Regions from separate parts of the Homo sapiens genome. Here region 1 is linked to region 2. Evidence: promoter capture Hi-C in human tissues and cell types (Jung and others, 2019). All regions are on one chromosome and are shown on one strand. Each heading gives the region's core, a stretch centred on a gene start or on the middle of the fragment in contact. The rest is flanking DNA. Distances are from core to core; before and after follow the strand shown. Region 1 overlaps DISC1 (DISC1 scaffold protein). Region 2 holds the start of DISC1 (DISC1 scaffold protein).

Region 1 (6,827 bases), core at 2,570-5,069, 93 kb after region 2:
AGAAAACACTGTGTAAAGTGTGGATGCTTCTGAAAAATCTCCCTGCCAGCAGTTAGTGCCAATAGCGTGCAGAAAATAAGATGCAATGATTTGGCTTCTTTTCTGTTTGGCAATAAGAAGCTTATTTGCACATAGCCTGATTTCTTTCAATCTGCAAAAAAAAAAAAAAAAAAAAAAAATTGGAAATGAAGTAAAGCAATATATATTAAAACATGCAAATTATAAAGAAGCATTTAAAGCTTGACTACTCTTCACATTGTCGTATGGCAAACTATTTTTTTTATCTGCAGTCTAAATTTCATGACCTAGAATCTCTCGTTTTCTGCCTGATGCTTTGTTGCATGACATTGGATGACATTGAGAAAATGAAATTGAAACCCTGCTTGGGCTTTGAAAGAACTGGCAATCCTGCTTTTAAGAGTGGAAGGAAAAAAAATGGAAAGGGAAGGAGGAAAATGGGACATACATGGAATACTAAAGACAAGACTGAAGAAAGAGAGGTTGAAAGCTCTCTCTCTTCTGATTATGTTTCTGTGGGTCTCTACTGTTTTGTGGCCTTCACCCTCATGGGCAGAGAAGGCTAAGGTGTAATTCTCAGGTAACCATTTAATCTTTCCATTTAAAATGGTCATTTACAAACATGGAGTCCATTTCCTTTGCATAATGGCAACGAGATGGCGCCTGTGCTCCTTCGTGGAATTCCTTGCTCTGGGTGATGGACTGGACAGCTAATTTGTTTTTATAAAGTGTCTGGGCACTTAATTAAATCTTGCATCCTGTCTAATAAAAAATCAATATCAAATCCACTACCAACACGTTCTGGATGGCAGAGAGGCATGCCAGAAGAAAATCTTGAGTGGCGGTTCCTTCCAGATTTAGCAAGCTCTGCAGTTTGTGTTTGGCTGTTCTCTCATCCTGTTGCTTGGCCCAGCTCCTATTCCTAAGTCAATGAGGGCTTCAAAGCATGGTGTGAATGCATCAGCTGCTCTAGAGGTCCTGTCTTTGGGAGATGAATTGTGGCCCATTAAAAAAAAGTTCTCTAGGGAAATGTGAATAAGTTTCCTGCAAGTCTCGGAAATAAAAACCTTTATGGTATATAAATATTTGAAGGTTAACAAGGTCTTCAGTTGGAGGAAGGCAGGCCCTTGGCAGAACCAAAGGGCATCTCACGAGTGGGTAGAAAGTTATAGGAGGGATTGGTCTTTTCTGCTTTGGTGTTGGTAGTGGTAGCTGGGGGTCTCTAGGCTGATTGTGTATGATCTGGAGTCTGGAGCCTTGCTACAGTTTGAACTGGTCAGAAAAGCCAAGGCCCGCCTCCCTCTGCTGACTCTGTCTCACTGAGCCATAGGCGTGGGGTCCTGCATTGGCCATTTCAGTTTTGCTTGTTGATGAGGAAAGGTAGATCAAGTGGGTCAAGGTGGCAAGGGTCATGTATTCAGAGTAGGGACTGAGTGGAGTTGGAAAATAAGCAGCAGTGAAGAAGAGAGATCACTCCAGCAATCTTCTCACTGCCAAAAGTCTCCAGGTCCCATAGACTGAGCACCATTCAATAATTCTATGTGTTGTATGAACGCATCAGACAATTCCACAACCTCCTTACTTCATTTGCCTGCTTGTCATAGTGCGAGAATTGCTTTCATTGTCCATTTGTTTCTTGACAGTCAAATCTCTTCATTAATAAAAAAAAGACTTGAATTCATGGCACCATTTTATTTTCCAATACTATTGTATAGAATGTCCAAACTAAGATCTAAAGACTATCTTTTTCCCACCATCCCTCTAGAAGTTCCTGATCTTTGTTATATCTCAGCCCAGCTCCTCTTGCCATATCCCCTATTACAATGAATGGCAAGTCAAGCAGAAAAAAGCCTGTGGGTCATTGTGGACTTTCAGCTCTCCCGGGACATGAGCCACTACACCTTTTCGATTTTATCTCTTAAGTATCTCTTCCTTCTGTCCTTTGATCTCGTAAGTGTTGTCTGGACACACGCACTCGCCTCTTAATGGGTCCTTGGTTTCTATTTTCATCCCCCTCCAAAGCATCCTTCGATCATCCTTCAATCCCTTTCCAATCATCCTTCATGTTGTAACCAGTCTTCTTTCTAAAACTCATTTACAATTGCTTTTCTACTTCATCTCTCTGCGTGACTAATGTCACTATCAGGACAAATGTTAAATATGGCCTGCCATAACCAGCTTCTTGCCCTGGCCCTTGCTTAGCTTTCTAACTTCATTTCTTGCCATTCCTTCCCCACTTCAAGCAACTTTCTCTCTCTTTTTTTTTTTTTTTTTGAGTTGCAGTTTTGCTCTTGTTGCCCAGGCTGGAGTGCAATGGTGCAATCTTGGCTCACCACAAACTCCGTCTCCCGGGTTCAAGCGATTATCCTGCCTCAGCCTCCCGAGTAGCTGGGATTACAGGCATGTGCCACCACACCTGGCAAATTTTCTATTTTTAGTAGAGACGGGGTTTCTCCATGTTGGCCAGGCTGGTCTCGAACTCCTGACCTCAGGTCATCTGCCCGCCTCGGCCTCCCAAAGGGCTGAGATTACAGGCATGAGCCACCGCACCTGGCTGCAACTTTCTCTTTAGTCCCTTGGTAGTTCCCGAAGGCATACTGCCTTGTCCACTGTTTAGTACCTCTGCCTGCACTTACCACCTCCTTCTCCTACTAGGTCATCCAGACTTGGTTTCTGGTTGGTCATGGTGTGGCTCATGCCACAATCCTAGCTTTTTAGAAGGCTGAGGTGGAAGGACTTGAGGCCAGGAGTTGTAGACCAGCCTGGGCAAATAGCAGGACCCCATGTCTATAAAATTTAGCCAGACATGGTTCTGTGCATCAATAGACTCAGCTACATGGGAGGCTGAGGCTGGAGGATTGTTTAAGCCCAGGAGGTCGAGGCTGCAGTGAGCTATGATCACACCACTGCACTCCAGCCTGGGTGACAGAGCAAGACCCTGTCTCCAAAAAAACAAAAAAGACTTGGTTTCAGTGCCCCTTCTTTTGAGTGCTTGGTATATTCTCTATCCTCATACATATTGTGTTTTAGCATAGCTATTGGCTGTCCTCTTGGCTAAACTGTTAGCCTCCTAGGGAAAGAAAGAGACCCTATTCATTTTTACTCTTTATCCCCAGAACTTAGCATAGTGCTTGGTCAAAGTAGCCTCTCAAGAAGTGGTTGTTGGATGAACAAGTGAATTCATCTTATTATCACTTATCATCTTATTATCATTGTTACATTATTAATAGCTGATAATTCTACTAACAATAGAATTATAAAGCATTAGCGCTTTTCAGGTCAACCTTGTTAAAAACCTGACTGCAAAGTTCAATTCTGCCATTTGCTAGCTGTATAAGCTTGGACAAATTATTCTTTCTAAGCTTTATTTTTTCTATCTATAAAATGGGATAATAGGGTTGTTTGGAGAATTAAATGAGATGGTGCATGCTAAATATTTGGGTTATGTATCATTCAGAATGAATGTTTGTTAAATTATACTCACTGGTAAAATATTTAGGTATTTTAGATCTGCTAGAGATAGGCTTTTTAATCTCTTTGTGTTTTTTTGTTCAAATGTATTTGCGAACTGATTATTTTCTTAGATAATCATTTTCTTAGATAACCTTAGCGCACCTAATTTGATGCCTGTTGAGAGTAGAGAGAAACCAAAAAGCTCACAGCAGAAGGACTTTTTCATATGTCACAGTAGACAAACAAAGTTATTTTCCGTCACAGCCATGTATTGGGTGGAATGACCTTTAGTAGCTGATGACAGCGATGTAGCAGAAGGGACAGTTTTCCACTTGACCTTTATACAATGTGCCAGCTTGTCTCATAACACAAAATAAGTTGCAATTGACAGGCTTGATAGAACACTAACCCGACAGGAGACAGACACTGAAGCAGCCCCTGTTTGCTACCGAGCGTGGCAACTTCCATATACCCAAGGGTGCCTTAGGGATGACTACTCCCTAAGTCATGGCCAGAACATTTAGTGTAATTAGTTCCTCTAGGAGTTTATTGTGAGGTGAGATTTGCTCATAATGAATTTTCATTGCCAAGGACTTGGTTACTCGCAGGTACCCCACTATAGTCTTTTGACTTTTCTGTCTTTGTAAGCTGTCTTCCTCTCCTCTTTGCTCTTTGCTTTTACCATAGGATGTTTTCTTCTTTACTCTTTTTAATTTTTTTTCTTTAAGACAGGGTCTCGCTTTGTTGTCCAGCTGGGGTGCAGTGGCATGATCATAGCTCACTGCTGCCTCAAATTCCTGGGCTTAGGCGATCCTCCTGCCTCAGCCTCTCAAGAAGCTGGGATTACAGGTGCATGCCACCACACTTGGCTAATTTTAAAAATTTTTTATAAAGACGGGGTCTCACTATGTTGCACAGGCTGGTCTTGAATGCCTGGCCTCAAGCGATCCTCCCACTTCGGCCTCTCAAAGTGCTGGGATTACAGGTGTGAGCTGCTGCACTCGGCCTCTTCTCAGCTTTTCTAATGCTTCATTTTTGCCGTTCCCTAACTTGACTACTTTTAGTTTTCTACCACTGGGTGATTTTTTTCCCTTGGGGCTTTCTGCATGAGGGCTAAAATGTGAAGTTCTTAAGTTTGTTCCTTCTCCCAGATAGTCACAGGGCAGAAGTGGTTCTGAGCAGCAGGTAGGAAACGTGTTGTCGTTTCGTTTACAGGTTTGTTGGAGGAAGTTGCTACCAGTCATCTCACTTTGCATACCTAGTTCTGACATTGACTGCATTAATAACCACAGGTAATTTACTTTACCTCTGCAGGAAGTCACTGGAAGGGTTACATTTTCATTTGGGGTGAACAGCAACTGTGGATACGGATCATGAAAATTGACAATGGAAAATGGGCATGCCATTCTGGAACTTTTCCCAGCTTTTTTCCAGAGCCAGGTCTGTCCTGATGTGAGAAATGATGTCCTCATCTGCCAAATGAGTACAATAACATTAGCTCTACCTACCTTGCTGGGCTGATGAAAGAAACAGAGGAAATAATACATATAAAAACTGTGCTGATTGAAAGGAGCTATGTCAACATATTAATTCAGGCTGTCCCTGGTTGGAGTATTGTGGATAATGTTATCTGCTTTTTATTCTTTTCCACACTACAGATGAGAAAAAAAAAGAAAAAAAGTTTTTAGGAGAGAAAAAATTAGAAGAAAATGTTTAAAAATACTCTCTGGAAAGTTAGAATTCTAATAAAATCCTTAGTACCACAGTTGAGGATTTGGCTTCATGCTCCAAGTAAGTAAATCTGGCTGAGATTAATATTTGATGCATATTTATGAAATCAGATATATCAAAACTGTATCAAAAGATATAAATCTTTTATTTTTCTTAAAGACCTTATACAATGAAATGTTCATTTATATCATATGGACTTGGGGCAGCAACAAAAACTTGGCAACCTGGGGTTGCTGATATTTACAGCTGTTCAACATTTTTTGGATCCATGTATTCTCTTCAGAACACCAGAAGGCTGTGCTTTTCAAATTGTGTTCTGAGGAGCCTCAGAGATGCCTTAGGGAAGGCTGAAAGGGAAGCTTCATCCAGAGTACTTTGGTTTCCATCTGTTATTAGTCCAGTAAGATTTCATCTCAAAAAGGGCTCTGTTGCTAAAAAAAAGAAAAAGAAAAACAAACAATGAAAAAAAATCAAGAAGTAAACAAAAATTCTTGAAAAGCACTGCCTTGGCTGGGCACGGTGGCTCACGCCTGGAATCCCAGCACTTTGGGAGGTCGAGGCGGGCAGATCATGAGGTCAGGAGATTGAGACCATCCTGGCTAACATGGTGAAACTCCATCTCTACTAAAAATACAAAAAATTAGCCGGGTGTGGTGGCGGGCACCTGTAATCCCGGCTACTCGGGAGGCTGAGGCAGGAGAATGGCATGAACCTGGGAGGCGGAGCTTGCAGTGAGCCAAGATCGCGCCACTGCACTCCAGCCTGGCGACATAGCAAGACTCCATCTCAAAAAAAAAAAAAAAAAAAGCACTGCCTTAAGGACTTTCAAAAATGGTATCTCAGATATTTGGAAACTATTGTTGAGAGAAAGGAAGAGATTCCTCCCAAATCTGGGCTTCTTTTTCATGTTTGATAGAAGCTTGAATTTTGAGTAAAAAACACAGTATGCTAGAGATGCTTAACCTGGAATGACCATGGTATTTGATACAAATGAGGTTCTGTAGAATGCGGACAGCTCTGCCTGGACTGCTCTATGAAATAGATCTTTCTACTTATCCACACTCGAACAAGTGTGTCCAGCATAAACATCACAGTGCTTCAAATACTGTTAGTCCCAGTCAAGGATGTTATTCTGTGTCCATTCCACTCAGAGGTATTCATTTTCTTCTTGGCAGCTGGAACCAATTGCTTTGGATCCACCATGGAAGCCTCGACATCCTGAACCAAACTCCTATTAATGAAACTTCCCAAATTTAAACAAAGCAAGACAAATAGATATCCACACAGCGTAGATCATGACTTCTTTAGACATCATGAAAAGAAAAAGAGGACCCACGTGGAAGAATACGCTCATTTATGATCAGGGTAGCATCATATTCCTCTCCCTTTTAACATTATTTCAGGATAGCAGCTGTCTGGATGCTGGCCATGGGCTTGAAAAAAACCAGGTGGGCATTTCTGCCCACTGTACCGTTTCTCCCATGCGTTTCCCAGTCCCCTGTCATGGCATGAAAAAACCGCTATTGTTCTGTGTTGGGACAATTAGATTTTTGTAGGGGGGAGAAACCACCCAAAAGCAAATGGAAAAATATGCTATGATTAATGTCAGTTACGGGAATTAAACT
Region 2 (6,599 bases), core at 2,326-4,825:
GGTATGGAACACAATTAGAAGTACAGAATTGAGGGGAAAAGAATGGGAATGGTTTTCAATTTGGTTGGTTTGAATGGATTCTTAGACAACCAAGTGGTGCTGTTGAGGGGGCAGTTGGAAATACAATGAAGCTCAGTCTAATTTAGGGCTAGTGAGGGATGGACAGGAGGAAATGGATACAAAAGACAATTCTGAGGTGGAAAGGACAGGATCCAATGGCTGAATGAAAGGGCGAAGGTGAGCGGGGATGTAGGATTGGCTGGGAGGAGAAGAAGAGAGTAAAGCTATCTTGAAGAAAATTTAATACAGGAAGGGCAGCAGTTTTGGGAATGTGCTAGAGAGGACTATGAGAATAATTTTGGTGATATTAACTTTGAGAACCCAGCAGAATCTGTAAGTTGGAAATATGAATCTGGAGTTTGGGAGAGAGGTTGCAGTCAGGGATTCTGATTGAGGTTGCATCGGGTGGTTGAAACCCTGGAAGTGGATGAGAGGGATGAGTAAGGTCAAGTATGAGGGATGCTCAAGAAGAGAAGCAAGCCATGGATTAAATTCTGGGGAGATCCAAGATAAGGGGTGGGGAGAAGGGGAGAAACTAATGAAGGGGACCCAAAGAAAGGAGTGAGCAAGTGGGAGGAGGACAGGAAGACAGATAGATAGATAGACAGATAGATAGAGAAGACAGAAGAGAAAGAGAGAGAGAGGAGAAAGAGAGAAACGGAGAGAGATAAAGAGAGGAGAAAGAGATAGAGAGAAGAAAAAGATAGAGAAAGAGGCAAAAGAGAGAAAGAAGAGAAAGATTTATTTTAAGGAATTGGCTCACTTGATTTTAAGGTCTAGCAAGTTTGAAATTTGAAGGGCAGGCTGCTAGGCTAAAAATTCAGGCAGGATTTGAAGCTTCTCTCTCTCTGTTTCTCTCTCTCTTTAGGCAGGGTCTCACTCTATTAGCCTGGTCTCACTCTATTAGGCTGGAGGGAAGTGGTGCAATCACTGCTCAGTGCAGCCTCGACCTCCTGAGCTAGAGTGATCCTCCTGCTTCAGCCTCCCAAGTAGCTGGGACTACAGGTACAGGCCACTGTGCTGGCTAATTAATTTTTTTTTTCTTTATAGAAAGGGTTTTGACAAGCAATGGGTAAAGAATTTCCTAAATGGTGATGGGATAACTGGCTAGTCATATGCAGAAGATTGAAACTGGACCTCTACCTTACAGTTTATACAAAGTTAACTAAAGATGTATTAAAGACTTAATTGTAAAACCCAAAACTATAAAATCCCTGCAAGACAACCTAGGCAATACCATTCAGGACATAGGCATGGGCAAAGATTTCACGACAAAGATGCCAAAAGCAAAAATTGACAACTGGGATCTAATTAAACTAAAGAGCTTCTGAACAGCAAAAGAAACTATCAACAGAGTAAACAGACAACCTACAGAATGGGAAAACAATTTTGCAAACTGTGATCTAACAAAGATCTAATATCCAGCATCTTATAAGGAACTTATATTTACAAGAAAAAACCAAACAACCCCATTAAAAAGTGAGCAAGGGACATGAACAGACACTTTTCAAAAGAAGACATATATGTGGACAACATTCATATAAAAAAAGCTCAACATCACTGATTATCAGATAAATGCAAATCAAAACCACAATGAAATACCACCTAACACCGGTCAGAATGGGTATTACTAAAAAGTCAAAAAATAACAGATGCTGGAGAAGTTGTGGAGAAAAAGGAACACTTTTACACTGTTGGTGGGAGTGTAAATTAGTTCAGCTATTGTGGAAGACAGTGTGGTGATTCCTCAAAGACCCAAAGACAGAAATATTGTTTGACCCAACAATCGTATGACTGGGTATACACCCAAAGGAATATAAATAATTCTATTATAAAGACACATGCACACACATGTTCACTGCAGCACTATTCACAACGGCAAATATATGGAATCAATCTAAATGCCCATCAATGATAGGCTGGATAAAAAAATATGGTACATATATACCATAGAATACTATGCAGCCATAAAAAAGAATGAGATCATGTCTTTTGCAGGGACATGGATGGAGCTGGAGGCCATTATTCTTAGCAAACTAACACAAGAACAGAAAACCAAACACTGCATGTTCTCACTTATAAGTGGGAGATAAATGATGAGAACACATGGACGCATAGAGGGGAACAGCACACACTGGTGCCTTTTGGAGGGCGGAGGGTAGGAGAAGGGCGAGGATCAAGAAAAACAACTAATGAGCACTAGGCTTAATACCTGGGTGACAAAATACTCTGTACAACAAACACCCATGACACAAGTTTACCTATGTAACAAACTGAACTTAAAAGTTAAAAAAAAAAAAGAGGTTCTTATTATGTTGCCCAGGCTGATCTCAAACTTCTGGACTCAAGTGAACTTCCACCTTGGCCTCCCAAAGTGCCTGGCCTTAGATATTCATACATTTATTTATTTTTAGAGATGTGGTGGGGGTGTGGGGGGTCTCTCTCTGTCACCTGGGCTGGAGTGCAGTGGCCCCATCATAGCTCACTGAAGCCTTGAACTCCTGGACTCAAGCAATCCTCCCACCTAAGCCTGCCGAGTAGCTGGGACTACAGGAGTGCACTACCATGCCGGGCAAACACACTGATTTTAAGTACAACTGTGTGCTTTCAGTCTTAAGATCTTCAGCTTTTGAAGGACCTCAGCCTTCCTCTAGTTCTAACTCCTCTCGTTCTAAGGAGATCCTTCCCATTCCTGCAGAACGTCTCCCCAACCCTTCTTCTTCACAGTTCTCCCTCCTATCCCTGAACCATTGCAAGAGGTTTTGTGCCAAGCCTCTGGCACATGGCACATTCTATCTCATGTTGTGATTTCGTTTTCTATGCACGTGCTCTCCTTCTAGCCTGGAGGTGAGCTGCTTAAGGGCAAAGAGCTCATGTGTAGCCCTTCCTTGTACCCATTGTCCTATAGCAGGTGCTACCTAGGGGGTGCTCCAGTAGCTTCCTTGAATGAACCAAAGAGAAGGGGTGAAGGGGGGAGTCAGTTGCCTAGGAGCTTGCATGGACTTCTGTGTCCTGGAACCAGCCCGGAGCTGCTGGAAGATGCTAGAAGTTGGAATCCTATCTCATTTCTAAACATCTGCTCCCACTCATCTCTTTCCAGGGTCATCAGTTATCCCCACTCCTCCCCCCCGCCCCCACTTTGTATAAATGAGCCCCTCACATCCCTCCATCTTCTCCATCACTGTGTGGTCACTTCTTAAATCATGCGTCTGGAAGGCGCCCTCCTGTACCCCATCCTGGAGGCTTCCTGCACTTCCCCTCTTGTTTCTTCCAGAAATGAGTCAGAGTGAAAGCAAACTTTCTGAGGTCCTGAGATCCCGGAGACAGGCTGTGAGGGCCGCTGGCCCCGCCCGCTCCAGCAGCGTGTGTGTGTATGTCTGTGTGTGTGTGTGTGCGCGCGCGCGCGCGCGTCAGGGGCCAATGCTGGAAAGGAAACAGCGGACTCGCTGAGGAGAAGAAAGGAGCCGCCCCCTTCGTCGCCAGCCCCCTCCCCACTTCCCGTCCAGCGCGCTGCTCCCTTCCCCCCGCCTCTGGCCTCGGGGAAGGAGCAGGAGGCAGCCCAGGCGGAGCGGGAGGAGCTGGCAGCGGGGCGCATGCCAGGCGGGGGTCCTCAGGGCGCCCCAGCCGCCGCCGGCGGCGGCGGCGTGAGCCACCGCGCAGGTAGGGGAGCTGCCACAGAGTCCTAGCACGTCCTGGGGGGGTCCTGGCAAGGAGGGCGCGCTCTGGCCCCCAGGAAGTCGCGTAGGTCAGGGCGTGCCTCTGTTAACAACCCCTTTCGAGGTGAGGGAAACTGAGGCAGGACGCGAGGCGTGCGAGGTTGAGAGAAGAGCGAGTCTTGGGCTGCCAGCCCGGCACCAGCGCCGAGCCGGGCCAGGTCCCTGACCCAGGACTGTGCAGCGATCCCCGGGACCCGCAGTTTGCGAAACTGTAGGAGTCTGACCCGCGCCCCCGCTGCGTGTCCAGGTGACCGGGAAAGGTTGCAGAGGCGTGCTTGGGGTTTGGATCCGTCCCCGTCCTGGGACACCTGCGCCGCCTGCACTCTCGTTGCGGTGCGCCCCAGCCTGCGCCCCCTCGGGACAGGGGACGTCCCGCCCGCCTTAACCCCAAGACCCAGCTGGATCTCGGGTTCCACCCCTTCGGGGACCTGGAGGGAGGAGGCTGGGAGCGGGACCAGGAACTGGTGCCTGTGCCTTCCCTAGGGGCTGCTCTGAAATCAGTGTCACCGCCCACTTCCTACTTGGCTACAGTAACGGGGATGGCCCAAGCCGGAGACTGCTCGGTTTCCACCGCCTGGAGCGCGGGTCTCGCTGTCAACTCTTAGTGATGATTGTGGATGGTTGTTTTTCAACAATGACAGGACTTCTACCTTCTCACTCTTAAAATGTGAGGTTTTCCAAAGACAGTGAGATTTGGAGTTAGGGAGTGCTGCCTTGTGTTCTTGCTGGGTGAGGACAGGGCTGGGTCAGTCGCTTAACCTCTCAGAGCCTCAGTCTCCTGAAATGTAAAGGAGAACACTCATAGCCTGGCCTCCATGTGTCGTTAGGTTTGTTGTATGGGAAATCAATTTGCAAAGTGTTATCATCAACTGGACAAATTTGAATTGGACAGCACTAGGACCATAGGAACTGGGGTTTGGAGACAGTCTGCCTGCATGTCAATCCTGGACATGCAGGAGACTATGACAGTACCTGCTTCATAGGGTTGTTATGCGGTTTAACTGTGATGGTGGAAGTGAAGCACCTCGCCCAATGCCTGAAATACCCAGTGCACTCTCAAAAAACCTTAGTTGCTATTTTTCCTAGGCAAAATCTAAATAATTGGGAGTAATGTGAGAATACCAGTTTGATTTGATTAATGCAGGAATAGTAGGGCATTTAAAAACACATGTAGTTCTCCTGTGCTCGGCATGGTACATGAAGTCCTCTGAGGTTCAGTTCTGTGCCACAGAGCAAAAAGAACCGTGGACAAGATACCCGCTTTTCGGGCTCTTTGACTTTGAGCCTGTTTTCTCATCTGTTTACAAAAAAGATAAAAGAAAAATGGGGGTAGTAATTACTGCCTTTTGTACTGATCGCATTGCCTGAGGATTAAATGAGGCAAAAGATCTGAAAGCACCTTGTGGAGTATGAGTCACTATGCACATATAAGACATGATAGTACTAGGAGGGAATGGTAACATCTGCAGGTTTTTAGAACTTACAATGTGCCAGACATTTTATTATGAATTCCTTTGATGAAATCCTCCCTGCATCTTTATGGGACTGGGATTACAGTCCTCATTTCCCTATGACAAAGCTGAGGTTCAGGGTCACCCTGCTTGGTTCCCAAGCTCACAGAGCTCTTAAGTGTAAAGCCAGGATTAGAACCCTGGTGTGGGTGCCACTCACAACTGTGTTCTTGGCCGCTTGCCAAACTGAACTTATAGAGTGGAGCTGTGATTCAGAACAGACCTATATTAGAATTTAGGTAATTTTTTTTTCTTTAGGAGACAGAGTCTTGCTCTGTCACCCAGGATGGAGTGCAGTGGCACAATCATGGCTCACTGTAGCCTTGAACTCCTGGGCTCAAGAGATCCTCCTGTTCCAGCTTTTTGAGTAGTTGGGATTACAGGCGCATGCCACCATGCCCAGCTAATTTTTTTTTTTAGAGTTGGAGTCTTGCTATGTTGCTCAGGCTGGTCTCGACCTCCTGGCTTCAATCATTCCTCCCACTTTGGCCTCCCAAAGCGCTAGGATTACAGGCATGAGCCACCAGGCCCAACCTCCATCCTGCATATCTATAGACCCAAAATGTAAGAGTGAACTGTTAATCCTGGCAAAAGAGGCTTTGGCATAATTTTAATTTCCCTCAGACTTATTTTATAAAATATACTTTAAACTATCTTCTTGTAAAACAAATGATGACAATTTGCAGAAAAGTTATTAAAACATTGAAAGAACAGGTTGCAAGATCTCATCACAAATCTCTAAGTGGTATCTGGATTGTTTTGTTTTGTTTCAACACTCATTTGCCAGAACCCTTAGGATAGCACATGAGGTGTAACCGGAAATCGAGGCGTTGGGTGTCATGGTTACTTTGCAGGGCTGGGCCCCGGGACTTTTCTGCAGGAAGTTCATTGCTCACCCAAGATGCCTCCAGAAGAAAGCAGAAACTTCCGAGAGGAGCGTGAATGCTCTGTTTCTGTGCTGCAGAAACAATTCCTAGTTTATTTGTTTCCTAAATTAAGTTTATCTTATTGGTTTTTGTTTTTCCAAAAGCAATGCATGCTCATTACAGGAAGCACAGAAAGCTACAAACAAGTAAGTGAACACTAAAAAATACTGTAATCTCACCAAGGTAGACAAATAGCTTGGTGTCTCTGTCCTTGTAACCCATTTCTATGCTGCATGCATCCATCCAAAAGTGAGAGGCAAACTATTATTGTTTTTTGTTAAATGACAAAAATAGTACTTGCTAATTGCTCAAACATTATGACATTAATGTAGAACAAAGCCAATTTATTATGCTCATTAAAACTTTTTCTTTTTTTAAAATCTAAA

The links. The method cuts DNA at HindIII sites, captures the fragments that hold promoters and counts their contacts. A contact is called where the count stands out against the background at its distance.
Region 1: a contact is called between a fragment that was not itself captured here and the fragment with the promoter of DISC1 in region 2, in 2 of the 25 tissues and cell types used here (H1 embryonic stem cells and IMR-90 fibroblasts).

Annotation. Positions count from the first base shown.
Region 1 is chr1:231,716,162-231,722,988 of GRCh38, forward strand. The region is part of intron 3 of DISC1 (DISC1 scaffold protein); the gene reads left to right. The region is part of intron 7 of TSNAX-DISC1 (TSNAX-DISC1 readthrough (NMD candidate)); the gene reads left to right. Among named protein-coding and RNA genes, the nearest start is that of DISC1, 93 kb to the left of the region's middle. The HindIII fragment of the contact is 4,044 bases long and covers 1,798-5,841 here.
Region 2 is chr1:231,623,215-231,629,813 of GRCh38, forward strand. DISC1 (DISC1 scaffold protein) reads left to right here and starts at 3,576. Exons shown (of 13, transcript NM_018662.3): 1 at 3,576-3,720. The coding sequence starts at 3,654. The region is part of intron 5 of TSNAX-DISC1 (TSNAX-DISC1 readthrough (NMD candidate)); the gene reads left to right. RefSeq lists silencers at 3,472-3,731, 4,062-4,121, 5,095-5,295. The HindIII fragment of the contact is 12,044 bases long and covers 1-6,599 here.